Linked DNA regions of Homo sapiens: regions 2, 3, 4, 5, 6 and 7 are each linked to region 1. Evidence: promoter capture Hi-C in 16 types of primary human blood cells and fetal thymus (Javierre and others, 2016). All regions are on one chromosome and are shown on one strand. Each heading gives the region's core, a stretch centred on a gene start or on the middle of the fragment in contact. The rest is flanking DNA. Distances are from core to core; before and after follow the strand shown. Region 1 holds the start of STAU2 (staufen double-stranded RNA binding protein 2). Region 2 has its middle 7.5 kb from the start of C8orf89. Region 3 overlaps RDH10 (retinol dehydrogenase 10). Region 4 has its middle 110 kb from the start of LY96. Region 5 has its middle 68 kb from the start of LY96. Region 6 has its middle 50 kb from the start of LY96. Region 7 overlaps LY96 (lymphocyte antigen 96).

The links. Contacts are between HindIII fragments. The CHiCAGO score rates a contact against its expected background, and 5 or more counts as called.
Region 2: a fragment that was not itself captured here is called in contact with the fragment with the promoter of STAU2 in region 1 in 1 of 17 cell types (neutrophils); the score reaches 5.2 in neutrophils.
Region 3: a fragment that was not itself captured here is called in contact with the fragment with the promoter of STAU2 in region 1 in 3 of 17 cell types (neutrophils, M1 macrophages and naive CD8 T cells); the score reaches 5.5 in neutrophils.
Region 4: a contact is called between a fragment that was not itself captured here and the fragment with the promoter of STAU2 in region 1, in 2 of 17 cell types (neutrophils and activated CD4 T cells). The highest score is 12.9, in neutrophils.
Region 5: a contact is called between a fragment that was not itself captured here and the fragment with the promoter of STAU2 in region 1, in 4 of 17 cell types (activated CD4 T cells, neutrophils, non-activated CD4 T cells and 1 more). The highest score is 14.1, in activated CD4 T cells.
Region 6: a fragment that was not itself captured here is called in contact with the fragment with the promoter of STAU2 in region 1 in 3 of 17 cell types (activated CD4 T cells, neutrophils and naive CD8 T cells); the score reaches 13.7 in activated CD4 T cells.
Region 7: a fragment that was not itself captured here is called in contact with the fragment with the promoter of STAU2 in region 1 in 1 of 17 cell types (activated CD4 T cells); the score reaches 5.7 in activated CD4 T cells.

Annotation. Positions count from the first base shown.
Region 1 is chr8:73,744,834-73,748,519 of GRCh38, forward strand. STAU2 (staufen double-stranded RNA binding protein 2) reads right to left here and starts at 2,007. Exons shown (of 15, transcript NM_001164380.2): 1 at 1,950-2,007. RefSeq lists silencers at 1,410-1,469, 1,580-1,759, 2,050-2,139, 2,220-2,509. The HindIII fragment of the contact is 14,890 bases long and covers 55-3,686 here.
Region 2 is chr8:73,265,183-73,268,868 of GRCh38, forward strand. It overlaps a transcript of C8orf89 not described here. Among named protein-coding and RNA genes, the nearest start is that of C8orf89, 7.5 kb to the left of the region's middle. The HindIII fragment of the contact is 6,052 bases long and covers 1-3,686 here.
Region 3 is chr8:73,313,911-73,317,596 of GRCh38, forward strand. All of the region lies in intron 2 of RDH10 (retinol dehydrogenase 10), which reads left to right. RDH10-AS1 (RDH10 antisense RNA 1) reads right to left here. Exons shown (of 6, transcript NR_125388.1): 5 at 1,656-1,695. Among named protein-coding and RNA genes, the nearest start is that of RDH10, 21 kb to the left of the region's middle. The HindIII fragment of the contact is 1,302 bases long and covers 1,070-2,371 here.
Region 4 is chr8:74,095,083-74,098,768 of GRCh38, forward strand. It overlaps a transcript of LY96 not described here. Among named protein-coding and RNA genes, the nearest start is that of LY96, 110 kb to the left of the region's middle. The HindIII fragment of the contact is 1,842 bases long and covers 1,129-2,970 here.
Region 5 is chr8:74,057,317-74,061,002 of GRCh38, forward strand. It overlaps a transcript of LY96 not described here. Among named protein-coding and RNA genes, the nearest start is that of LY96, 68 kb to the left of the region's middle. The HindIII fragment of the contact is 7,541 bases long and covers 1-3,686 here.
Region 6 is chr8:74,039,942-74,043,627 of GRCh38, forward strand. It overlaps a transcript of LY96 not described here. Among named protein-coding and RNA genes, the nearest start is that of LY96, 50 kb to the left of the region's middle. The HindIII fragment of the contact is 7,934 bases long and covers 1-3,686 here.
Region 7 is chr8:74,019,545-74,023,230 of GRCh38, forward strand. The region is part of intron 3 of LY96 (lymphocyte antigen 96); the gene reads left to right. Among named protein-coding and RNA genes, the nearest start is that of LY96, 30 kb to the left of the region's middle. The HindIII fragment of the contact is 3,841 bases long and covers 166-3,686 here.

The DNA.
Region 1 (3,686 bases), core at 757-3,256:
TAAAGGTTACAAAGATTTTCTTTGTATTATTCTTATTCTTGCCATTTGTCTGTAAGCTTGAAATTATTTCCAAATAAAGTTAAAATTTAAAAATTACACAGCATTTTATTTGAAATTAACAATACATACTTGGATTACACAGCAACATTCTTACAAATACAAAACACTGGTTTTTATGGGGAAAAATGCAGTAATTTGTGAGCAAGTATGTACCATATCCTACCAACTTATCATCACTTAGGAATAAATTTCAGACTAGCCTACCATATAATAAAATATGGCAATAGTGACTTGACTTGAAACCATAGCAGGAAAACACAAACACACCAGATAGTTTGGCATAACTGCTTCGCAAATTTAATACAGGCCTGCTGCAAAATGCAGCAATCTACAATTAAAGTGTTATGTGATATCTCTTGTTTGCAGTAAGATACAAACTGAACAATGAAAATCTGGCCATACTACAAAACAGAGATGGAGAGTAAGTCTTGGTTTTGGTAGTTTTATTAAATAAGATTTTTCCACCGCAGCTGAGTTCACAACAGTGTACTTGAATCATCTAAAGAAAGCAAGGACGGGGAAGAAATATCCTGGAGAAATGTTGAAATCTTTTCTCCTCCAAGGTTACTATCACCCTGCCTGTCCATCACAATTTTGATTTCAAGTATTCACGATGCTGGTCTGAAACACAGGATGCATCAGAAGCCAAGTAATGCTCAGCAAAAGTTCACCAAAATTGTGAAAGCAAACATTAAATAAAAAACGTTTTCAATTAACAGTAAAATATCTTTAAAGGATCATCTCTAGCCTTTCTTTCTGCAGGATCCACCCACTTTAAAATCCTTTGGTAAATTCCCAGGTCTACCCTAATTGAATGGTCCCTCTCTATCTGCTCAAGCAGTTCTTAACCCTTTGGAGTGGGGATGGGGGTAAGGGGACATCACAGCAAATATGGACCCTTACCAAAGAAAATTATTCACAAATGCAAAATTCTACACACATTTCCAAAGACTTCCAGAATCCCACGGCCATTACCCCCACCGCCTCCCTAAGAATCCCAGAGTGGCGTGCTTCTCAATGGCCTCTGCGGAGCACCCCCAGCCCCCAAGCCACAGCCCCCGGCTCGACCCCGAAGAGACTAGAGTTCCTGCTCTCACACAGCGGATTCCGTAACTGAGCTTTGTCTCCTCGCCCAACTCCCTTCACCCCGGCAAGGTCACTACCGCCAACTACCCCTTTAAGCCGAGCCATCACGGTAGGAGTTCGTAACAGCCACAGCAGAACTTGCCTGTCATAGGATATATTTTGTCCCCTCGGCCCCACCTACCCTCCCCATTTCGGCAAGTTACGTCTTTACCACTAGCCCATTCTACAGAAATAGCTGCCGCCGCCACCCTCCGGCGCGCCCCGGCCCCGCCGCTCCGCCTCCAGCGCCCCCAGGCCCATTTCCCGCAGACCCTCCCCGGGCCGCCCTCCCCTGCCCTACTCTAGGCGCTCCCTCTCCCTCGCAGCCACACCGTGGCTGCACTCGCCGTCCTCTCTTCCGGCCGCTACCACCCCGGCCCCCTAGAACCCCAGCCTCCCGCGCCCGCAGCCGCGTTCCTGTCTCCCCGACCTCCGCACCCCCACTTGGCCCGGCCTCCTCGCCTTCCTCCCGGCTCCTCCCCTCAGGACACCTGTGTCGTCCCACCCCCTCCACCACACACGCACCCCCCACCCCAATTCCTTCGCCTCCCTGTCCTCCCTCCCCCGCCGGTCTCCCCTCCCCGCTGCTGCCCCGAGAGCCCGATGTGGGAGGGAAGGCGCGGGGGAGGGGAGGCCGCGAAGGGGGCTGCTTTTCTCCGGGTTCCCCGTGCTGCGGAACTGCAGGGCTCCCCAGCGCCCTCTGCCTTCTTCGCCGGCGGCGCGGAAGTCGGGGTCTCCCGGACGCCCCCGATGAGGGTATTTACCTTCTTGCCGGGGACACTTTGCAGACGGCTCCAACATTGGCAAACACTACAGAGAACTGACCCCGCTCGGCCGCCGCCGGCTTCCACCCCTCGGGCTCCCCGCCCCCCGCCTCCGCCCGCCTCCGCCCGCCTCCCCGGCGCTCCCGCCGCGCCCTCCCGCGCTCGCGCCGCGCGCCCCCGCCTGCGCAGCCGCTCCCGCGCCCCAGCACGCCCGGCCGGCGCGCGCGCCCGGCACCGGCTCTACCTCCACTCCGCCTCCCGCCGGCCCGCGACCAAGCGCGGCCATTGTTCGCGACGCAGCTCCCGCCCCCTGGCGGCTGCCGGGCCCCAGCAGCTGCAGGCTCTGCGGGGCTAGCGGCGGCGAGCTGGGCCCCTGGGCGAGGGCCATTCCCGGGGGGCTTGGGCACGCGGGCGAGCGACTGCGCAAGGAGCGCGCCCGGTCCGCAGTCTCCTCGTCCCCGGCGCGACTCCCCGCCCCCTCGTCTGCCAAGGGTGGGCCTGGGGCAGCCCCTTCCACACCTGCAACTCGGCAACTTCCTTCCCCGCCCGACTGACCGTCTGCTCTTTCTGGTCCGCACCCTGTGCTCTGATTCCCCGCTCGTACCTTTCCCAGGCTCTCCGGCTGCCCCTCTGTGCTGTGCAGGGGACGCGCGACCATCCCGCGTCTGCTCCGGCCGCCGCTGTGCAACGCACGGTTTAGCGGATCTTGCACCTTTCTAGACGGGGGAGGGGGCGGGGAGGAGGTTGCTTCACCGTCTCGCCCAGCAAACACCAGGGATCCGTGATCACCTGCTCGCCAAGACCCGCGGCGTGGCCAGACCTCCTCTTCTACCGAAAATATTAGTCACATGAAAAAGAATCCTTGGAGCCAAAAATGAGAACCATTGAAAACAATGCCCTGAATCCTAGATTTATGAGGCAAGAGTGCCAGAAAACAGAAATTACGTCTTAATTCGTCCTGGTTTTGATGTGGATTACTTTTGTCTAGATAACTTCAACCCAGTTAAGCTCAATGAAACTGAACACTTCGTTTAGTAACCGGCACCAAAAATAATCTGACAAAGAAATTTCGAAATAGAACTATTAGTGTGTTTTCACAAACTTACTCGTTTGCAACGTTATTTCTAGGGTTTCTTCCCAGTGTCACTTCTCTGACTGAGAAATGTCTCCCAGGCCGGTGATTTCAGTCATCATCTAAAACCAATCTCATGTCTGCACCTGGGAAGGTAGTGTGTGTCCTGGTTAACCGCAAGGGCGCCAGAGTCAGATAACCAAGGCTGGATATCCGCTTGCTAACTGGTGAGGAGACCACGGGCATGTTACTTATCCTGTGCATCAAGAGGAGACTACATGTGATAGATAGTTCGTATTTAAATGTGACAATACATATGAAGCCCTTTAAATAGGACCGGGTATGTAGTACCTCTCCTGGTACAATGTTAGCTACAGCTATATTTTTCCTCCCAGAACTCTTTCCTATGCTCCTTTCCCCCCTTTTCACCTCTGCCAGTTCCCTCGGATTTAACATGTTGCATCCTCCCTAAATTTGCTGTGCTCCTTCTAGCGGCTTACGCACCCAGTCAGCATTCTAATACAGTCATGCCTTACCTAGCCACAAGGATATGTTCTGAGGAACGTGTCATTAAGCGATTTTTGTTGTTTTGCGCACATCATAGCGTGTTCTTACGCAAACCTAGGTAGTCTAGCCAACTACTTGCTTTGGCTATATGGTATATA
Region 2 (3,686 bases), core at 324-2,823, 480 kb before region 1:
ATTTACATTAATTTCACCTGTCTCTTTTTGCATTTTTAATGTGGCTTTCAGAAATTTTTAAATTACATATGAAGCTAGCAAAGGGGAGAGGAGAATAAGACAAGGTTTGAAAGATAGCAGATATCAGGTATTTTAGGGCTTTATAAGTCATAACAGAGTTTGGATTTTATTCTACGTGCATCAAAAATCCATCAGAAGGCTTTGAATAGGAAGAAACATCTTAGAGTTGGGTTAAAAGCAAATCTCTGGTTTAAAGGCACATAAAGGACACTGTGGAACACAAAGAAGGGAGTTGTTAATTCTCAGGAAAGGCTTTAAGGAGATGACCCCCCTAAGCTAAGTCCAGGTTGGAGGAGTGGTCAGACCTCTTTATAGAGTCGTTGCTGGGCAATGACACAGAGGTATCAAAAGAACTTCTCTGTTCAAGGAATGTAAGCAGTTAAATATGGCTAGCATGGTGATCTCTCCCATGCCATTCTTCAAAGAATCCTAAATCTATATCTTCAGGCATCTCTTCTGAGCAATCAGCATACAAAAAGAACTGCTTATTAGGGAGCTTTACCTGGATGTCTCAAGGGCATCTCAAATTCAAAATGCCCCCAAACTAGCCACGTTTTCCAACTGAAGTATGTTTCCTTCCAGATTCCCTAACAGTACCTGACATCATCATGCTCCAGTAACAAAAGGTAGAAACCTGGATGCCAACATGGACACCCCTCTTTCCTCCTAAATCTTGTCATTCAATAAGAGCTGTTCGTTTTATCTCTTACATATCTCTTAATCTGTCTACTTCTCTCCATCTCCACCCTACTCCAAGCTACTGTCATTTCATGCCTGGGTTGTTGTATTAGGATTTAACTGATCTCCTCACATCCAGTCACATTCCCACAGTCTAAAATTTGAATTTCAAAACACTAATGAAGGTATCTTAACTTTTAAAAAATGATTCTTACCTTTTCTTGTATCTCCATTCATCTGGAGAACAGAAAAGAAATTGATAAAGAGGGAGACAGAAGAGTGAAAACCTTCGGCCACCTCTGGCTCATTTAGGATGACTGTGTAGCTGGCAGGCAGCCTTCTGGGCTTTTCAGTGAGTGAATGGACCTGCTTATGGTCCCTCACAGAACTCTGAGATGGAGCAATCTATGAAGCCCTTCTATCTTGGGATAGATTGCTCAAAGTTTCTATCCACTCATTTGAGGTGTCATCATGACATGGGAAAAGATGGCTGGAATATGAATGGCTTACACAAGAATATTTTCCACCATATAAAAGCCTGGCCAGACCTCTCAAGGCTGGTGCCAGGATGTCAGAGAGCCAGACTACTTCTATCTTACTGCTCTACCTCCCTGAACGTACAGGATCTACCTTATGGTTTGAGGTGGCTTTTCAGTAGGTGAATGTTTATATGGTGCTGATGGCAACCAAGGTTTCCAGTGTTGGAGAAAAACATAAAGATTTAAGATCAATAAGATTAAGTGAAAACTCCCAAAGTCCTAAACATGAATTGGAAGTATCATTATACAGGCTTTTATTTAAAATAACCATGAAAAAATGTTTCCTAGCACTGTCCACTGAACTGCAGGCGCCCAGAAACAATCATCAAACCAAGAGCATTAAAAACCCCTAACAACCAGGCTGTGATCTCATTCCTGAAAAAAGAAAAAAAAAACTAGGGCCCCTGGAAGAAGTAGCTGATTCCAGGTCTGTGGTAGGAAATATACAAAATGAACCTGTAATAATTTGTCATTTCAGAAGTCTAGGAATCTATCAAAGACAACTGCAATCATGGCAGTCACCGATTTAATGAGGTGCCAACTGACCAAAGATAGGACTATAAACCTTAATAAGAATATTAACTTTAATGGATTAAAATATGTTAAGCATGTAGAATACACAAATGTGTAAATATACGGTAATCCCCCCTTATCCCTGGGGAATACAGCTCAAGACTTCCAGTGTGTGCCTGAAACTGTGGATAGTACTGAACCCTATATATGCTATGTTTTTTCCTATATATACATACCTATGATAATTTATAAATTAGGCACAGTAAGAGATTAACCACAACAGCTAATAATAAAATAGAACAATTATAACAATGTACTATAATAAAAGTTATGTGAATGTGCCCTTTCTCTCAAAATATTTTATTGTATGTAATATTTTCTGACCTCAGTTGATGATGGATAACTGAAACCAGAAACTGAAAATGAGGGGGAACTGCTGTACAGCACTTAAAAACAAAACAACAGCAAAAACAAATGAAAACCTTACTCATCTTTGGAGGATACTAAAGGATCAACTTAATTTGAAACCCAATACATATCAGGAAATAACCAAGCATTTATTCAAATAAATGATGATAGGAAAGTTTCTCACAGTATCTCAACTAATAAATGAGGGAATTAGAGTATGATTATAAAATATTACCATTTTGCAAACCTTAATAAATGGAGCTTGGCAATTATGACGATTAATGTTTTGTTTCAGCTTGGTTAGGCTATATAGTATCTAGTTATCTAATTAAACACTAATCTAGGTGTTGCTGGGACAGTATTTTGTAGATGTAGTTACCACGTACAGTCAGTTGACTTTAAGTAAAGGAGATTTTCCTCAATAATCTGAGTGGGCTTTATCTAATTAGTTGAAAGTCCCTGGAGAAAAACTGATGTTTCCTTGAGGAAGGAAATTCTACCTCAACACTGCAGTACTAACTCCTGCCGAAGATGTGTCTCTGGCAGAACACCACCATCTATATAGCATTCTTGCCAGAAAAAAATCAAACCCAACTCTGATGAAGCCTTTAGATCTAACTCCTGATTTAGAGGAATAGAAGACAAAACAACATATTAAATGGCATCGCGGGGATACAATCAGCAAAATCAGACTGCAGTTTTGACCTGAGACAAATAAACTGTTTCTTTCCACAAATAAATTACAATTAATCAGTCAATCATCCGTATAGGGGGTAGGGATAATCTATAGATTAAAAGAGATTTAAGAAACATAGCAGGCTGGGCGCGGTGCCTCATGCCTGTAATCCCAGCACTTTGGGAGGCCGAGGCAGGCAGATCACGAGGTCAGGAGTTCGAGACCAGCCTGGCCAACATGGTGAGACCCTGTCTCTACTAAAGATAAAAAAAATTAGCCAGGTGTGGTGGCACGCACCTGTAATCCCAGCTACTCAGGAGGCTGGGGCAGGAGAACTGCTTGAACCTGGGAGGCAGAGGTTGCAGTGAGCCGAGATCGCGCCACTGCACTCCAGCCTGGGCGACAGGGTGAGACTCTGTCTCAAAAAACAAAAAAAAAAGAAAAGAAACATAGCAAACAATTGCAGTGTATGAACTTTGCATGAATTGCTTTTTAAAAGATACTCTATGAGACAATCAGGGTAGTCTGAGCACTGACAGGATATTTGATAGCATTAAAGAATTATGATTAATTTTTTAAGATGTCATAATGGTTTGTGTTTTCAAAAGAACTCTCATCTTTCCAGATATATATGGAAATATTTATGGATAAAATGATACAATGTTTGTGATTTGCTTCCATATAATGGGCGTGGGAGGGAGAGGGTAGTGGTGACAGTATGGGTAAAACCACATCAGCCATGAGTTGCTAATTGTTGCAATGAATGGCTGGTACATTGGGCCTTATTATATAACTCTTTCTACTTTGGGATG
Region 3 (3,686 bases), core at 471-2,970, 430 kb before region 1:
TCCATCCTTATACTTGATGTAACACAGCAGTCCTATTGGTCAGCAAATTATCTGTGCTGCCCTCTCAGATCCACCCATGCGTCACAGGCATTAATCTATACCAAAGCCGTTTGGCTGTGTGTTTCAGATTTGCCCTTTATGTTCTTCTGACGACTCTTTGAGACAAAGTTAAAGATTATGAACCTTAGCTTGAACTGACTGGTGTCATGGCAACTAGCACTTCACCTTTTGCTGGTCTCTATCTCATACATGCTACAATATTTGTGCACATTAATAATTCATTGCAAAGTGCCAGATTTCTTTGTGCTGTCAAGCAGTGTCAAGGACAGAATATGCTGTGCTATCTCAAATGTCATCTACCAGACTGTTGAGGGCAAGAGTAATTAGAAAAGAAAACTAGTCAGGTTACTTGGGAAAATTCCTGAAAATGTGATGCTTTCTAGTCACCCAACTATAGCATTTTTCTTGCAAAGTATGGAATAGAATTCATGTTGATCAAAGTTTATTTAATAATGCGCCCCAGACATAAGGCAGGAGTTTGGAGTAATTGCTCGCCTCTATTCAGGCAGCAAAGGAAATGATTAACAGCCTTCGTGCTCAGTCACGTGTACTGGGCTCCAGCGGGAACCTGAGCACAGGCTTAAAAGAAACCCGAGTGGTCCTGATGTGGGTGCTCCTACCCCAAGCCTGCCTTTGCCCGACACAGAGCAGAGCTGAGTAAATGTTTGACACCAGCTTTAGAAACAAGCCGTCTGGGATCTCAGGCTGATTAGCGGCCCTGGATAGCTTTCTTCACCTCTCAGTTCCCTCCGCGCAGCTCTTTGGTGGTTGTTGACGCTGTGAGTGATTGTTATAGTAATTGCAGTGTTGCCTGTAATTAATGAGCCTTTCAAATAAAAAATATGGATCTTTGTCTTAAAAATGTGGAAAATGCAAAGATACATTGGATTTAATTTATACAGAAGGCCAGATTTGTCCTTGATTAGGCAAAGAAATCACATGTTTTAAACTGAACATTGACTCACCTGTGCTTTACAGAACAAAACAAATAATCTCCCTCTCAAAAGAAAGCTTCATATTACAACCAGCCAGCATGTGTCGTACTTTACTCTTTAAAATTGGAATATATTTCTCCAAATGTTTATAGCCCACAGTTGGAAAAGATTTTTTTCACATAGCCATATCTGGATTGTTTGGTTTCTCTTTCTCTCTCCCTTCCTCTCCCCACCGGCCTCCTCTCTCTCTCTCTCCCCCCACCGGCCTCCTCTCTCTCTCTCTCCCCCCACCGGCCTCCTCTCTCTCTCTCTCCCCCCACCGGCCTCCTCTCTCTCTCTCTCCCCCCACCGGCCTCCTCTCTCTCTCCCCCTCGCCCTTTTTTGCTTCCTTTTCCTTTAAACCACTAGCTTAACTCCTCTTCAGACAATTTGGGGGTGGGGGGAGGGTCCCACAGGTGGAAGTGTGTCCCCACGTCACATTTTTTAGAATATGCAGCCATACTACCCTCCTTATGGACAAACTGGAACTATTTTATTTAATTTAATACCACCAGATTCATTTCAGGGCAAGAAGGGGAGGGGATATTAATCAGTTTCAGAACGTTGCAACAAATTACACTTAAAGAACAGTTAGGAACTTGTTAATCTTCTGTCACCTACCTTGATGTGGTGCTGGGGATCTGGATTAGTCATTTAATACCTGCAGGCAAGACCAGAGCACGTGAATACAGGGAAGTCATTACAGCCAACCTGCTATGGTGTCTGAGTTTCTAGTCAGAGCCAGCCGCTGGCTGGAGTTAGAGTGGACACGTGAGTGAGTGATTCAGATTTGTCAGGTAACCAAGTAGCAGGTTCTGATAGGAATTTGATATTGGATGTAATTTCTTAGGATTTAATATTGAGTCCTTATACTTTAACTTTTATACAGAAAGATAACTAAGACCCTTTATGTTAAGTTTATTGCTGTCTTCCAAGACTAGGCAAATTTTCAAAACTTAAAAATGATCTCTGGTTAACGTCAATAATATGTTTTATACTTTTTGGCTAATCTGGGAACAATTAATCATAACTAGATACTTTTAAAAGACATATAGGCTTGATTACTTAGGGATATGTTTTCTAGTTGTTTGAGGCAGGGTCTCGCTCTGTCGCCTAGGCTGGGGTGCCATAACACAATCACGGCTCACTGTAGCCTCGACCTCCTGGGCTCAAGCGATCTGTCTACCCCAGCCTCCCAAGTAGTTGAGACTACAGGCACACACCACTATGCCCGGCTAATTTTTTGTATTTTTTGTAGAGGCAGCGTTTCACAGTGTTTCCTAGGGTGGTCTTGAACTCCTGGGCTCAAGTGATCCTCCCGCCTTAACCTCCCCCAAAGCTTGGGGATTACAAGTGTGAGCCACTGTGCCCAGCTGTTTTCTAGTTTAGATTGGAATATATAAATTCCATTGTGATGTTACTTTATTTCAATTCTGTGATATAATACCCATGTATAAATTATAGAGCCTAAAGTTGAACCCATAATAACCTGAAGTACCAGTTTTTGACTTTTTCTGGTAACAGATCAAAATAATAATTACTGTCATAATTACTCTTTCTGTTTTTACTACTACAAAGAAATACAATCAAGCTGAAACATGTGTCTCTCTTCCTCAGCAGTGTACTTGGGCAATGCAGTAATGAGAAGTGTGTTCACTTGCTGTATTAGTCTGTTCTCATACTGCCATACAGAAATACGTGAGACTGGGTAATTTACAAAGAAAAGAAGTCTAATTGGCTCACGGTTCTGCAGGCTGTACAGGAAGCATAGAGGCTTCTACTCCATTTCTGGGGAAGACTCAGGGAGCTTTCAGTCATGGTAGAAGGCAAAGAGGGTGCAGCAATAAACACGGCAGAAGCAGGAGGAAGCGAGGGGGTGGGGGCTGCACACGTTTAAACAACCCGATCTCGCAAGAACTCACTCATCACTAGAGCAGCACCAGGAGATGGTGCTGAACCATACATGAAAAATCACTCCCATGATCCAGTCACCTCCCACCAGGCCATACCTCTGACATTGAGGATTATAGTTGACCTGAGATTTGGGTGGGGGCACAGATCCAAACCGTATCACTAGCTCTCCTCCACAGTGCCTGTCTCAGTGTAGCAAGGTAATTCTCCCTTAATATTTGGAAGATTGATCTGGGTCTTCCAGCTTAGTCTGGGACAGTCAGACAAATAAGTATAAGACAATCAAAATCAAAGCACTATAAAACACATAATCGCATTAAGGTAAATGGTACTGACTATAGGTCTTAGAGAAATGTAGACAAAGTCAGGCTGGCCTAGAATAATATTAGATAAAGGTTTAACACCCTAACTACCTTCAGTAAAGAATTATTAGGGGGCTCCAGTGACATAAAGCGCTTTGAAAAGCATGAGAGACTATATAAATATGTGATGAATATTACACTTTGATTTACACACGAAGGGTCTGGGATAGATTATCAGAAGAGTTCATGGGTCAAATGCCACAGGTGAGAATAAGCATTTCATGGGTACTGATGAGGAAACTCAAACAGGGTGTGAGTTGGGAGTGGGGTACTACATGATGACTGGGGAAGACCTTGGGATACTTCACAAAAATTCATGTGGCACCTGTATGAATAATTGGTGGGAGCACAGAAAAACATCAGAATTAAGGGAATTGCT
Region 4 (3,686 bases), core at 800-3,299, 350 kb after region 1:
AGCCAAAAATCCATTGTTGGAGCCACAAATCTCAAATTAAAGAATGTTGCAAGCATCCCTTTCATGTAATGAACTGGGTCCAGGTTTCATCTGAGTGATAGCTTAATTGCTGGTCAATGACCTTTTATTTTTTTCTTCTGCTTAAGAGATTAAGCTTTATTCAGGGCACAGCTGAAGAGAGAACAAAGAGTCAGTAAATTAGCAGCATAATCTGTTGAGTCATGAGAACATAAAGCCTTTTCCTACACGCACAGAAGCATTTCAGCTTGGATGACACAGATCTGTCCTTTAAGGGCCATAGGGATTGTTGCTTCTTCCTCCATCCCTCCCTATAGGTTTAATGCCAGCCACGGTGCCCCTTTCCCATTTTTATTGTTGAAGTTTTCTATCCTTCCTGTGGGGAAAAACATTTCTCTTCTTACTTCCATGAAACTGCTCGTGAAGGTCACCATGGCTTCAGCCTTGCTACATCCAAAGCTTGGTTCTCAGTCTTCATCCCATCTCACCTTGCAGCAGCAGCCGACACAGTCGCTCACTCTCTCTTCCAGCAAACATTTTCTTCTCTTGACTTCCAAGACTCTGCACTTTCCCTCCTACCTCTTCTGCTGCTGGATACATCTTCCCAGATGCTTGCTGCTTCCTTCTCTTTTCATTGACACATCCAGGGCTCAGACCTTAGATCGCTCCTTTTTCTCTGCCTTCCACATGCTCTTGGAAATCTCATTTGGTCTCATGGCTGTCTGTGCCGCAAACTCCCACACGAGCACCTCCAGCCCACACCTGTCCCTGAATTCCAGACTCACAGAGCCAACCATCTATTCCATGTCTCTGCATTTCCACCTTCACGTGTCTGAAACTGAACTCTAGATCTTTCTTCCAAGTTGGCTTTCCTTGCCTTCTTTCACATCTCAGTTAAGGACAGCTTCATGTGTTTAAGTGCCCGAGCCAATTGCCTTGGAAGCATCCCTGACTCCTCTCTTTTGCTCACATTCCACATCTAACCTTTCAAAAAACCCTAATATCTGGAATCTCGTTACCACTTCTTACTATCTCCACTGCAACCACTTTGGTCTGATCCACAAACATCCCTTGCATGGATTCTTGCAGTTGCCTTTTAGCTGGTCTTCAAGCTTCCATCCTTGTCCTCCAAGGTTGATTCTCCCCATTACTCTCAAAGTAGACCAAGGCCCTCATTAAGACCAATGAGGCTCTGCATGATCTGTCCCTTCCCCCAACCATTCCCTCTCTGACTCCTCTTCCTGTCACTCATCCATTTCAGACACCATGGCCTCTTTGCTGTACCTTTAACTTTCTAGATGTGTTTCTATTTTAGGGCCTTTGCACCTGTGGTTCTCTCTGCCTGGAATGTTCTTTCCCAGACATGTGCATCATGAACTCCCTCACTTAAAATCTCTGATGTCATTTTCTTGCTGAGGTCACCTTGACAACCCTAAGTACCATTGCAACCCTCTCCCTCCAGCCCTGCTGACTCTCCTGCTCTATTATTTTTCTATAACAATTATCATCTAGTAAGATATTATATAATATGCTTATTTTTATGCTTTTGACAATTGTCAGCCATTTCCCACTAGAATGTAATCTTCATGGGGGCGGGGACTCTGTCTGTTTTGTACCCCAGCACCTATGATGGTATATGACACATAGCAGGTCCTCAGTGGATGTTTGTTGAATGAATGAAAGAAAGCTATAGATGCTAGGATGGCTGGCTTGCTCCCAGGGTGATGTGAATACTTCTCTCTCAAGCCTTTGATCGGGGGAGACCTCACTTCCTAAAGTGTTTGTTGGGGAGCAGGAGCAAGAATGAAGTTTCCCTGGGGGTAGTTTCTGGGAGAGAGAAAAAGAGAGCAGACCTTTCCTGCTGTTGCAGGGATGACTTGGGTGGTTCCTACTTGAGTGACGGAGGTGGGTGGTCAGGGAGCCTGGACTGGCTTGATGTATTTTGTATTCTGATATTTTTGCTTAACATTATATCATGAGCATTTCCTAATTTTAAAAATAATTTTCATGGTGATTGTTTTAATGACAGCATACTTAAAATACAGTGTTAATGACCCAGCCTTGAAAGTAGATATGTGGATGCATGGAGATGATCATGGGTTGCTTTTGAGAATCTGAGGGTAATGTAGTTAAGAGCACAGGTTACCGTTAGGCTGTCTGGGTACAAATCCTGACTCTGGCCCTTTCCGCCTGTGTGCTCTTAGACAATTCACTTTCCTGTGCCTTACTTTCCTCCTCTGTAAAATTGGAATAGCAACAGTACCTGTATCTGTAACAGTAGTAGTGTTATTTTGGAGAATAGAAGAGTTGATATTTATAAAGTACTTGGGGCCAGGCACATTGGCTCATGGCTGTAATCCCAGCACTTTGGGAGGTTGAGGTGGGTGGATCACTTGAGGTCAGGAGTTACCAGCCTGGCCAACATGGTGAAACCCCGTCTCTCCTAAAAAATGCAAAAATTAGCTGGGTGTGGTGATGTGTGACTGTAGTCCCAGCTACTCAGGAGGGTGAGGCAGGAGAATCGCTTGAACCCGGCAGGCGGAGGTTGCAGTGAGCTATCGTGCCACTGCACTCCAGCCTGGGCCACAGAGCAAGACTCTGTCTCAAATAAATAAATAAATAAATAAGTAAATAAATAAGTAAATAGATAAATAAATAAACAATGTACTTGGACCCCAGTTACTCAAAGTGTGGTCTTCAGACCAGCATCATCAACAATACCTAGGGGCTTGTTATAGTAGAAATGCAGACTCTCAGACCTGGCACCAGCCCTGCTGAATCAGAAGCTGCCTTTTGACACTATCCCTAGGTACTTTCTATGGCCAGCAGAGAAATTGACTTAAGCAGTGCCTGGAACACAACAAGTACTACATAATGTTGGTTAAATTTTAGAGCAGGTATGGTTTTTCACCAGTCAGACCTCTAAGGCTTATTTCTTGTTTGTGTCAGGTAAGCTTTTCCAATAAATAGCTGGGGGACTGTCTCAGGCCAATTACTGTGTACCTCTGGGCTTCAGCTTACTTGTCTGTGATGTGAGAGTCAGAAATGAGTAATTTCAGAAGTATCTTGCCAGCTCTAGCCCTTCGGTATTCAATACTGCCTCTCAATTCACACTTTACTGAGCAGGGAGTTAAAGAAGACCCAGGATTTCTTTTGGAAACTGTATAAAAAAGTAAGGCCTTAGAAAAATGTTTACAAATGTCCCTTATGGTGCAAGCTAATCATGCCAGAATTGTCCGAATTAAAAAAAATCTCACAGGTTCATCTTATTCTGTCTTTTTATATTCTTTTTGGAGACAGAGTCTTACTCTGTCACCCAAGCTAGGGTACAGTGGCATGATCTTGGCTCAGTGCAACCTCCGCCTCCTGGGCTCAAGCGATTCTCATGCGCCAGCCTCCTAAGAAGTTGGGATTACAGGCACCCACCACCACGCCCAGCTAATATTTTGTATTTTTAGTAGAGACTGCCATGTTGGCCAGGCTGATCTCAAGCTCCTGACCTCAAGTGATCCACCCACCTTGGCCTCCCAAAGTGCTGGGATTACAAGTGTGAGCCACCACACCCAGACCATCTTATTCTGTCTTAGTATTTATTTGATGATACTAAGAACTTGCAGAATTCTGTTGCTCTTGACAGCAGCTGGTCTATTATTAGCCCTTTTAGAATA
Region 5 (3,686 bases), core at 609-3,108, 310 kb after region 1:
GGGATTTTACTGTTGATTACTCTGGGGATTATGATACCGTAACACAAATGGCAAACATACAGGGATTACAAAGTTTAGAAAATATCATGATGTTCTTATAAATGTTACCTTAACTTGTATTGGATCATCCTCAGAAGGTAACTGGAAGGTCATTTAAATTTGATTCTTTTCTCACTTTTAGAAAAAGAATATGCTGACTCCCTTATTCTAAGACAGCTCTCAGAGGCTCTTCAAACACAGCCATGTCTCATGTAGGTGACTCACATTTCTGAGGAACTCTGGAATAGGCCCAATTTCACTGTCCCCTGCCACACAGAAATCATGATTGTTGGGGCATATCTTCACACTCCCACTTAGGTTTCTCTCATCCTGCTAAGGCTTCCTTTAGGTCATTGATATGTATCAGTTTTAATTTGAGTGGTCTGAACTCACTAAAATGGCGACTTGGTAGCCAGGCTCACACCTGCAATTTTACTCTAACAGCTTAATTTCCTTACCTTACGTTTTATTCTCTGTTAAAGTAATCCAGGGGATGAGGTGTTAGCATAAGTTATGCTTCAGTATAAAAATGCGGAATAGAAGGGATAGAAAAGGGCAGTGAACATCTGTGGAGTAGAAAAGGGTTCCAGCTAGAGGTGAAAGCATGCATTCACTTTCTGGGATCCAGCCTGCCGTGATTACCTTCTTAGGCCTTCAATACTTCGTGAGCCTAAGGGCAGCTAGTAGTCCTGTTTGAAGAGGATACTTCTCCAGGTCTAGGCTTGAACAAATATGCCTGGGAGACTCCTATGACTCTAGCATATTAGATAGATGCTCCAAGAAACACTAGGACAGACTTTCTTTTGATTTCTTGTAAGGGTGAAAAAAAAAAACTAAAATATTACAACACAGATTATGCTGAACACATTCCCATTATCTTCCAGAGTGGTCTATTAAAATGCATTTCCATTTTATTTTCTTCATGATAGTTTTAATTATATTAAGCTGATCCAGAGGAAACTTCTGGATTATAACTTTAATTTCTACCTTAAACCTAAACTTTCTGCTACTCATGAACTTTAGCTTTTGAAAATATCATCCACTGCAAAACCTTTATGGAGAAAAATTTAAGTTTACTAGAGAATGTATTAGTCAGGGTTCTCCAGAGAAACAGAAGCAAAAGGATACTTACATATCTACACCTATCTATCTATCTAGAAAGTTTTTCTTTTTTTTTTTTTTTGGATGGAGTCTTGCTTTGTCACCCAAGCTGGAAGGCAGTGGCGCAATCTCGGCTCACTGCAACCTCCACCTCCTGGTTTCTAGCGATTCTCCTGCCTCAGCCTCCAGAGTAGCTGGGATTAAAGGCATGTGCCATGACGCTGGGCTAATTCTTGTATTTTAAGTAGAGATGGGGTTTCATCATGTTGGCCAGGCTGGTCTTGAACTCCTGACCTCAGGAGATCCACCCGCCTCAGCTTCCCAAAGTCCTGGGATTACAGGCATGAGCTACTGTGCCCGGCTGAAAGAGATTTATTATAAGATATTGGCTCATGCAATTATACGGAATGAGAAGTCCCACAGTTTGCTGTCTGCAAGCTGGAGACCTAGGAAAAGCCAGTGACGTAGTTCAAGGCCTGAGAACCAGGAGTGCCAAGGGCAGGAATTGATGTTTCAGCTCAAGCAGTCAAGCAGAGAGAGGATAATCCAAACTTCCTCCACCTTCTTGTTCTATTTAGGCCTTCCACGGATTGAATGATGTCCACCCACATTGGGGAAGGCCATCATCTTTACTCAGTCCACCAATTCGAGTACTAACCTCTTCTGGAAACACCCTCATAGACACACCCAGCAATAGTGTTTAATCAGATATCTGAGCATACTGTGGCCCAGGCAAATTGGTACATAAAATTAACTATCACAAAGGACACGAAAGAACAGCTGAAGAAATGAAGAAATCTAACATATTTATGGAAGCAAATGCTTGATAGAAAGATGTGAATTCTCCATAAATTAAATTATGAATTTAATGCAGTTCTAATAAAAATCCCAACATTATTGTGTGGAACTTAACAAACAGATTCTAAGAACTTCTAGCCAAGACATTCTAAAAAAGAAGCAGGAGGTGGGGATTTCTCTATCAGATATAAAGACATTTTTAAAAAGTTGTATAAATAAAACTGTACTACTGACACAGAATAGATAATTAGATCTGGGAACAGATTATATTTATAGGGACTTTCCATATACCCGTTGGAAAAGGGTAAATTCAATAAATGGCATTGCCAAAATTCACCTTCCTTATGGAAAAAAAATAAAATGAAATGTCTAATTCACATTTTTGAGTAGTTAAATTTCCAAAAAAGTTAAATTTCAAATGGATTACAGGTCTAAATGTGAAAAGCAAAACTTCAAAACTATTATAAGAAAATCTACTTAAAACTATTAGGAGAACAGCTTTATGATCTCAGGGCAAAATATTAGGCAAACAAGACACAAACAACAAAAGTATGAAATAAAAAAAGAGATAAATTTTGTTACATCCAAAACTTCAAACTTTGCTTGGGCGCAGTGGCTCAGGCCTGTAATCCCAGCACTTTGGGAGGCTGAGGTAGGTGGTAGCACTTGAGCTCAGGAATTTGAGACCAGCCTGGGCAACGTGGTGAAACCTTGTCTCTACTAAAAATACAAAAATTAGCTGTGCGTGGTGGTGTGCACGAGTGGTCCCAGCTACTCAGGGGGCTGAGGTGAGAGCCCAGGGGGCTGAGGTGAGCCCAGGAGGCAGAGGTTGCAGTGAGCCAGGATCATGCCACTGCACTCTACCCTGGGAGGGAGAGCCAGACCTTGTTTCAAACAACAACAACGACGACGACGACGACGACGACAACGAAAAACTTCCAACTCTTATTGTCAAAAGAAAAAAATACCATTAACAAAGATAAAAGTTAAGTGTCTGTCTGAGAGGTGTTTTCAGTTATAACAAACAATTGATATCCAGAAAATGTTTTCTTAAAATTTTATAAATCAATTAGCAAAGTTAAAAAAATCTAATGGGATAGGCAATAGGCCATTCTTAGCCTTCAGGTCTTGGCTTAAAATTCACTACCTATCGGAACCCTGACTTTCAGTCGGGGTAATTATATCACAATACTTTTCACTCTTAAATCATTTTTCCTTGTTGAACACCTAGACAGTGAACTCCTAGAGAGGAGGAAACAAATCTGAGGTGTTTTTTCTCTCCACTTTTGAGTCTCAGCTTCTTGCACATAATAGGTGTTCGATAAATATATGTCGAAAGACTGATGGAGTAAATGAATAAACCTGAGTCCCTCCTTGACCCTTGCGTACTGCACAGGCATAGCCCTCTCTTTGCTGTGCAAATCTAGAGGGTGGATGTTGGAACTCACAACCAAATTCATTTCAGGTAGTAAGCTGAGGGGTAGTCTGGTCACTCCTTGCCCTCAAGTTTTCTCCTGTATCCTAGGAGATTATGTTTCCTCAGGAGAAGTAAACTGATCTATTTATTTAACACTTGGGGTAATTCCAGGCCCACGTGGTCCTTCCAAACCTCTTTCTGGTAATCCAGTTTTCCGGTTTTGCCGTAGCAGGTTCTGAGCTTTGTTATTTGCTATCAAAAATACCATCCCTATTCAACAATGACAAAATGTTGAGCATTTCTATACCTTCGTGTCCTGGAGAATGGAACC
Region 6 (3,686 bases), core at 343-2,842, 290 kb after region 1:
TGACTCCTCCAAGGAAAGGAGACTCCCTTTTGCAGTCTGCTAAGTAATGGGTGTCTTCCCAGGCACTGGCATTACCGCTTGACCAAGGAGCCCTCAAGCGGCCCTTATGCGGGCGTGACAGAAGGCTCAGCTCTTGCCTTCTAGGTCACTTCTCACAATGTCCCTTCAGTACCCGACCCTATACCCGCCAGTTATTCCTAGGTTATATTAGTAATGCAACGAAGAGTAATATTAAAAGCTAATGATTAATAATGATTATACTAATGATTGATAATGTCCATGATCATCTCTATATCTAATTTGTATTATAACTATTCTTAATCTAACTATTTTCTTTATTATACTGAAACAGTTTGTGCCTTCAGGCTCTTGCCTTGGCACCTAGGTAATCTTTCACCCACAATCCTATTTGTCCATTTTTGGTTTGGTTGCTTGTGCTTGTGGGGTATTACTCAAGAAATCTTTGCCTAGACCAGTGTCCTAGAGAGTTTCTTCAATGTTTTCTTGTAGTAGTTTCATAGTTTGAGGTCTTAGATTTGTCTTTAATCTATTTTGATTTGATTTGTATACATAATGAGAGATAGAGGTCTAGCTTCATTTTTCTGCTTATGGATATCCAGTTTTCCCAGCACCATTTATTAAAGAGACTGTTCTATCCCCATGTATGCTTTTGGTAGCCTTGTCAAAAATCAGTTCAATGTAGATGTATGAATTTATTTCTGGGTTCTCTATTCTTTTCCATTACTCTATGTGTCTGTTTTTTTTTTTTTTTTTTTTTTGAGATGCAATCTCACTCTGTCGCCTGGGCTGGAGTGCAGTGGCACGATCTCAGCTCACTGCAACCTCTACCTCCCGGGTTCAAGCAATTCTCCTGCCTCAGCCTCCCACGTAGCTAGGACTACAGGCACGTGCCACCACACCGGGCTAATTTTTTGTATTTTTAGTACAGATGGGGTTTCACCAAGTTAGCCAGGATGGTCTTGATCTCCTGACCTCGTGATCCACCCACCTTCTTGCAACTTTTCTATAAATTTGAAACTATTATGAATCTGAAATTATTTAAATATTTACTTAAAATTAGTGTTGCGGGAAGTCAGGGACCCCAAACGGAGGGATCAGCTGGAGCCGCGGCAGAGGAACATAAATTGTGAAGATTTCATTTTAATATGGACATATATCAGTTCCCAAATAATACTTTTATAATTTCTTATGCCTGTCTTTATTTCAATCTCTGAACATAAATTGTGAAGATTTCATTTTAATATGGACATTTCTCAGTTCCCCAAATTAATACTTTTATAATTTCTTATGCCTGTCTTTAATCTCTTAATCCTGTTATCATCATAAGCTGAGAATGTACATCACCTCAGGACAACTATTGTGTTAACTGTACAAATTGATTGTAAAACATGTGTGTTTGAACAATATGAAATCAGTGCACCTTGAAAAAGAACAGAATAACCGCAATTTTCAGAGAACAAGGGAAGACAACCATAAGGTCTGACTGCCTGTGGGGTTGGGCAGAATAGAGCCATATTTTTCTTCTTGGAGAGAGCCTATAAGTGGACGTGCAAGTAGGGAAGATATCACTAAATTATTTTCCTAGCAAGGAATATTAATAATTAAGACCATGGGAAAGGAATGCATTCCTTGGGGGAAGTCTATAAACGGCCGCTCTGGGAGTGTCTGTCTTATGCGGTTGAGATGAGGACTGAAATACACACTGATCTCCTGCAGTATCCTCAGGCTTATTAGGGTGGGGAAACCCCCCCCACCACTAGTAAATTTGAGGTCAGACCGGTTCTCTGCTCTTGAACCCTGTTTTCTGTTGTTTAAGATGTTTATCAAGACAATACATACACAGCTGAACATAGACCCTTATCAGTAGTTCTGTTTTGCCTTTTGTCCTGTTTCCTCAGAAGCATGTGATCTTTGTTCTTTTTGCCCTTTGAAGCATGTGATCTTGTGACCTACTCCCTGTTCTTGCACCCCCTCCCCTTTTGAAATCCTTAATAAAACTTGCTGGTTTTGCAGCTCAGGTGGGCATCATGGTCCTCCTGATATGTGATGTCACCCCTGTAGGCCCAGCTGTAAAATTCCTCTCTTTATTCTCTTTCTCTTTATTTCTCAGCCAGCTGACACTTACGGAAAATAGAAAGAACCTACACTGAAATATTGGGGGCAGGTTCCACCATAAATTAGCTAAAAATAAACATTTTTAAGTTAATTAAAAATAACAAAGGCATGCATGCATTACTGTGTACCTTTCTAGTCAAACTAACAGAATTTGAGACTGGGGCTGGGCACAGAGGCTCACGCCTGTAATCCCAGCACTTTGGGTGGCTGACGCAGGTGGATCTCCTGAGGTCAGGAGTTCAAGACTGGCCTGGCCAACATGGTGAAACCCCATCTCTCTAAAAATACAAAAAATTAGTCAGACATGGTGGCAGGTGCCTGTAGTCTCAGCTACTTGGGAGGCTGAGGCAGGAGAATTGCTTGAACCCAGGAGGTGGAGGTTGCAGTGAGCAACCGAGATCGTTCACTCCAGCCTGGGTGACAAAAGCGAAACTCCATCTCAAAAAAAAAAATTTGGGATTGGACTCACTCAAAATTCTGCTTTTTTACACAAGAGCATAACTCTTCCAACACGAGCATAGCACTGAGGTAAGAGGTTATGTTAGGAATGAATGAGTGCTGGAATCTTGTAGAGGCAGTTTCTTAATTTCAGACAAACCAAACAAAACCTGTTTGTACAGAGGTCTAGGTTCTAGTCTTTAGTAGTCCTTAAAAGTTTGTTAAGATTTAGGCTTTAGGATCTGGAGAACTTTTGTTTTGTTACCTTTTTTTTTTTTTCGAGACAGAGTCTTGCTCTCTTGCCAGGCTGGAGTGCAGTGGCGTGAGCTCATCTCACTGCAACCTCCACTTCCCGTGTTCAAGAGATTCTCCTGCCTCAGCCTCCCGAGTAGCTGGGACTACAGGCATGTGCCACCACACCCTGCTAATTTTTTGTATTTTTAGTAGAGACGGGGTTCCCCATGTTGGCCAGGATGGTCTCAATCTCTTGACCTCATGATCCACCCACTTCAGCCTCCCAAAGTGCTGGGATTACAGGCATGAGCCACCATACCTGGCCGGTTTGTTACCTTTTGAAGAAGAAAAGGCCCACAGGAGGGTTGATACAGCAACCACATCCCTGTCATTCACCAACGCTTAATGTCTGGCACATAGAGGTGCCAGTAAATATTGAATGATTAGGATCAGTAACTCAAAATAAGTCTACAGGGCAATACAGGAACAGGGGTAGGGAGGTGTGGGCCAGTGAGATATGCTAGCTGAAGTGATTCTCAGTGAATGAAGAGGTTGTCAATTGGGACTAATTCTGAAGTCCTGTGTGTCACAGATGTGTGAAGATTGTGTTCTTGCTGTCAGAATTCTGTAGGGCTTTATTCAGGGCTTTTGAGAGGTAAGATGCGAGCTTAGACCCAAAAGCAATGAACTGGAATACTCAGCCAGGGACTGCAGTTGGGATAGACCATGCAGCAGTGGTGGGGGCACTGCCATTGCCAGTGGTCTTTTTGCAGGTTGAGGTTGACTGGAATTTGCTCATATTAGTTGCCAAGGAGGTTGACACATGTGTATTTGTCATTTTTTAATTGGCCTTATCTGCTTCAGTTGGCATATCTACT
Region 7 (3,686 bases), core at 836-3,335, 270 kb after region 1:
AGGGAATCCTCCCTAACTCATTTTATGAGGCCAGCATCATCCTGATACCAAAGCCTGGCAGAGACACAACAAAAAAAGAGAATTTTAGACCAATATTCCTAATGAACATCGATGAGAAAATCCTCAATAAAATACTGGCAAACCAAATCCAGCAACACATCAAAAAGCTTATGCGCCAAGATCAAGTTGGCTTCATCCTTGGGATGCAAGGCTGGTTCAGCATACACAAATCAATATACGTAATTCATCACATAAACAAAACCAAAGACAAAAATCACACGATTATGTCACTAGATGCAGAAAAGGCCTTCGACAAAATTCAACAGCCTTTCATGCTAAAAACTCTCAATAAACTAGCTATTGATGGAACGTATCTCAAAATAATAAGAGCTATTTATGACAAACCCACAGCCAATATCATACTGAATGGGCAAAAACTGAAAGCATTCCCTTTGAAAACTGGCACAAGACAGGGATGCCTCTCTCACCACTCCTACTCAACATAGTGTTGGAAGTTCTGGCCAGGACAATAAGGCAAGGGAAAGAAATAAAGGGTATTCAATTAGGAAAAGAGGATGTCAAATTGTCCCTGTTTTCAGATGACATGATTGTATATTTGGAAAACCCCATCATCTCAGCCCCAAATCTCCTTAAGCTGATAAGCAGCTTCAGCAAAGTCTCAGGATATAAAATAATGTGCAAAAATCACAAGCATTCCTATACACCAATAACAGACAAACAGAGAGCCAAATCATGAGTGAACTCCCATTCACAATTGCTACAAAGAGAATAAAATATCTAGGAATCCAACTTACAAGGGTTGTAAAGGACCTCTTCAAGGAGAATTACAAACCACTGCCCAACGAAATAAAAGAGGACACAAACAAATGGAAGAACATTCCATGCTCATGGATGGGAGGAATCAATATTGTGAAAATGGCCATACTGCCCAAGGTAATTTATAGATTCAATGCCATCCCCATCAAGCTACCAATGACTTTCTTCACAGAATTGGAGAAAACTACTTTAAAGTTCATCTGGAACCAAAAAAGAGCCTGCATTGCCAAGACAATCCTAAGCAAAAAGAGCAAAGCTGGAGGCATCATGCTACCTGACTTCAAACTATACTACAAGGCTACAGTAACCAAAACAGCATGGTACTGGTACCAAAACAGAGATATAGACCAATGGAATAGAACAGAGGCCTCAGAAATAACACCACACATCTACAATCATTTGATCTTTGACAAACCTGACAAAAACAAGCAATGGGGAAAGGATTCCCTATTTAATAAATGGTGCTGGGAAAACTGGCTAGCCATATGTAGAAAGCTGAAACTGGATCCTTTCCTTAAATCTTATACAAAAATTAATTCAAGATGGATTAAAGACTTAAATGTTAGACCTAAAACCATAAAAGCCCTATAAGAAAACCTAGGCAATATGATTCAGGACATAGGCATGGGCAAGGACTTTATGACTAAAACACCAAAAGCAATGGCAACAAAAGCCAAGATAGACAAATGGGATCTAATTAAACTAAAGAGCTTCTGCACAACAAAAGAAACTGTCATCAGATTGAACAGGCGACCTACAGAATGGGAGAAAATTTTTACAATCTACCCGTCTGACAAAGGGCTGATATCCAGAATCTACAAAGAACTTAAACAAATTTACAAGAAAAAATCAAACAACCCCATCAAAAAGTGGGCAAAGGATATGAACAGACACTTTTCAAAAGAAGACATTTATGCAGCCAAGAGACACATGAAAAAATGCTCATCATCACTGGTCATCAGAGAAATGCAAATCAAAACCACAATGAGATACCATCTCACACTGGTTAGAAAGGCGATTGTTAAAAAGTCAAGAAACAATAGGTGCTGCAGAGGATGTGGAGAAATAGGAATGCTTTTACACTGTTGGTGGGAGTGTAAACTAGTTCAACCATTGTGGAAGACAGTGTGGCAATTCCTCAAGGATCTAGAACTAGAAATACCATTTGACCCAGCCATCCCACTACTGGGTATATACCCAAAGGGTTATAAATCATGCTACTATGAAGACACATGCACACGTATGTTTATTGCAGCACTATTCACAACAGCAAAGACTTGGAACCAACCCAAATGTCCATCAATGATAGACGGGATTAAGAAAATGTGGCACATATACACCATGGAATACTATGCAGCCATAAAAAACGATGAGTTCATGTCCTTTGTAGGGACATGGATGAAGCTGGAAACCATCATTCTGAGCAAACTATTGTAAGGACAGAAAACCAAACACTGCATATTCTCACTCATAGGTGGGAATTGAACAATGAGAACACTTGGACACAGGGCAGGGAACATCACACACCAGGGCCTGTCATGGGGTGGGGGGCTGGGGGAGGGATAGCATTAGGAGAAATACCTAATGTAAATGACTAATTAATTGGTGCAGCAAACCAACATGGCACATGTATACATATGTAAGAAATCTGCACATTGTGCACATGTACCCTAGAACTTAAAGTATAATTTAAAAAAAAAAGAAAAGAAAAGAATGGAAGGTATGAGCAAGATATGAGCTTTCTTGGCAGGCACAGTGGCTCAAGCCTGTAATCCCAGCACTTTGGGAGGCCGAGGCGGGCAGATCACTTGAGGTTAGGAGTTCCAGACCAGCCTGGCCTACATGGTGAAACCCAGTCTGTACTAAAAATACAAAAGTAGATGGGTGTGGTAGCACATGTTTGTAATCCCCGCTACCACCCGGGAGCCTGAGGCAGGAGAATCACTTGAATGAAGGCAGAGGTTGCGGTGAGCCAAGATCCCACCACTGCACTCCAGCCTGGGCTACACAGTGAGACTCCAGTCTCAAAAAAAGAAAAACCAAAAAAAAAGATAGCTTTCTAAGACAGACAAAACAATTGAAAAACAAAAAAAAAAGGGTTCTATCCAACAGAAGAGGTTAGAACTCCTTCCACCTACCTGAACTGCTAAGTGTTAGGACAGTCTCCCTTAATAGAAATCTAGGGTTTTTTCTTTTTTTCTTTTTTTTTTTTTTTGTGACAGGGTCTCGCCCTGTCGCCCAGGCTGGAGTGCAATGGCGCAGTCTCAGCTCACTGCAACCTCTGCCTCCCAGGTTCAAAAGATTCTCCTGCCCCAGCCTCCCCAGTAGCTGGGATTATAGGTGCATGCCACCACGCCCAACAACTTTTTTTGTATGTTTAATAGAGATGGAGTTTCACCATGTTGGCCAGGCTGGTCTCAAACTCCTCACCTCGTGATCAGCCCACCTCGGCCTCCCAAAGTGCTGGGATTACAGGCGTGAGCCACTGTTCCTGGTCTAGTGGTTGTTCTTAATTTCTTTCTCATATCCTCAAGTCTCATCCATCTTCCTCCCCTGCCCCTTACACAAAGTTTACAGAGTTGGCTTTATGACCAGAGTCCAGGGCCCCATATACGGAAGGGCCCCATGCTTGGGGTTTAATGCCCTGTGATCATAGTCTTGAAATTCTTAATAATTTTATCTTTGAGTGTGTGTTTTGTGTAAGTGAAATCTAATGAGATGATGAGGTATGAACCCACCTTCCCTGGACCGGTTCTTGGTTCCCGCTGCCCACTTCCCTGCTGGCACCATGGGATCCCCTCCCCTCTTCTGTCCAGTGCAACCTGCTACCCTCTGCTCCTGGTGAAATC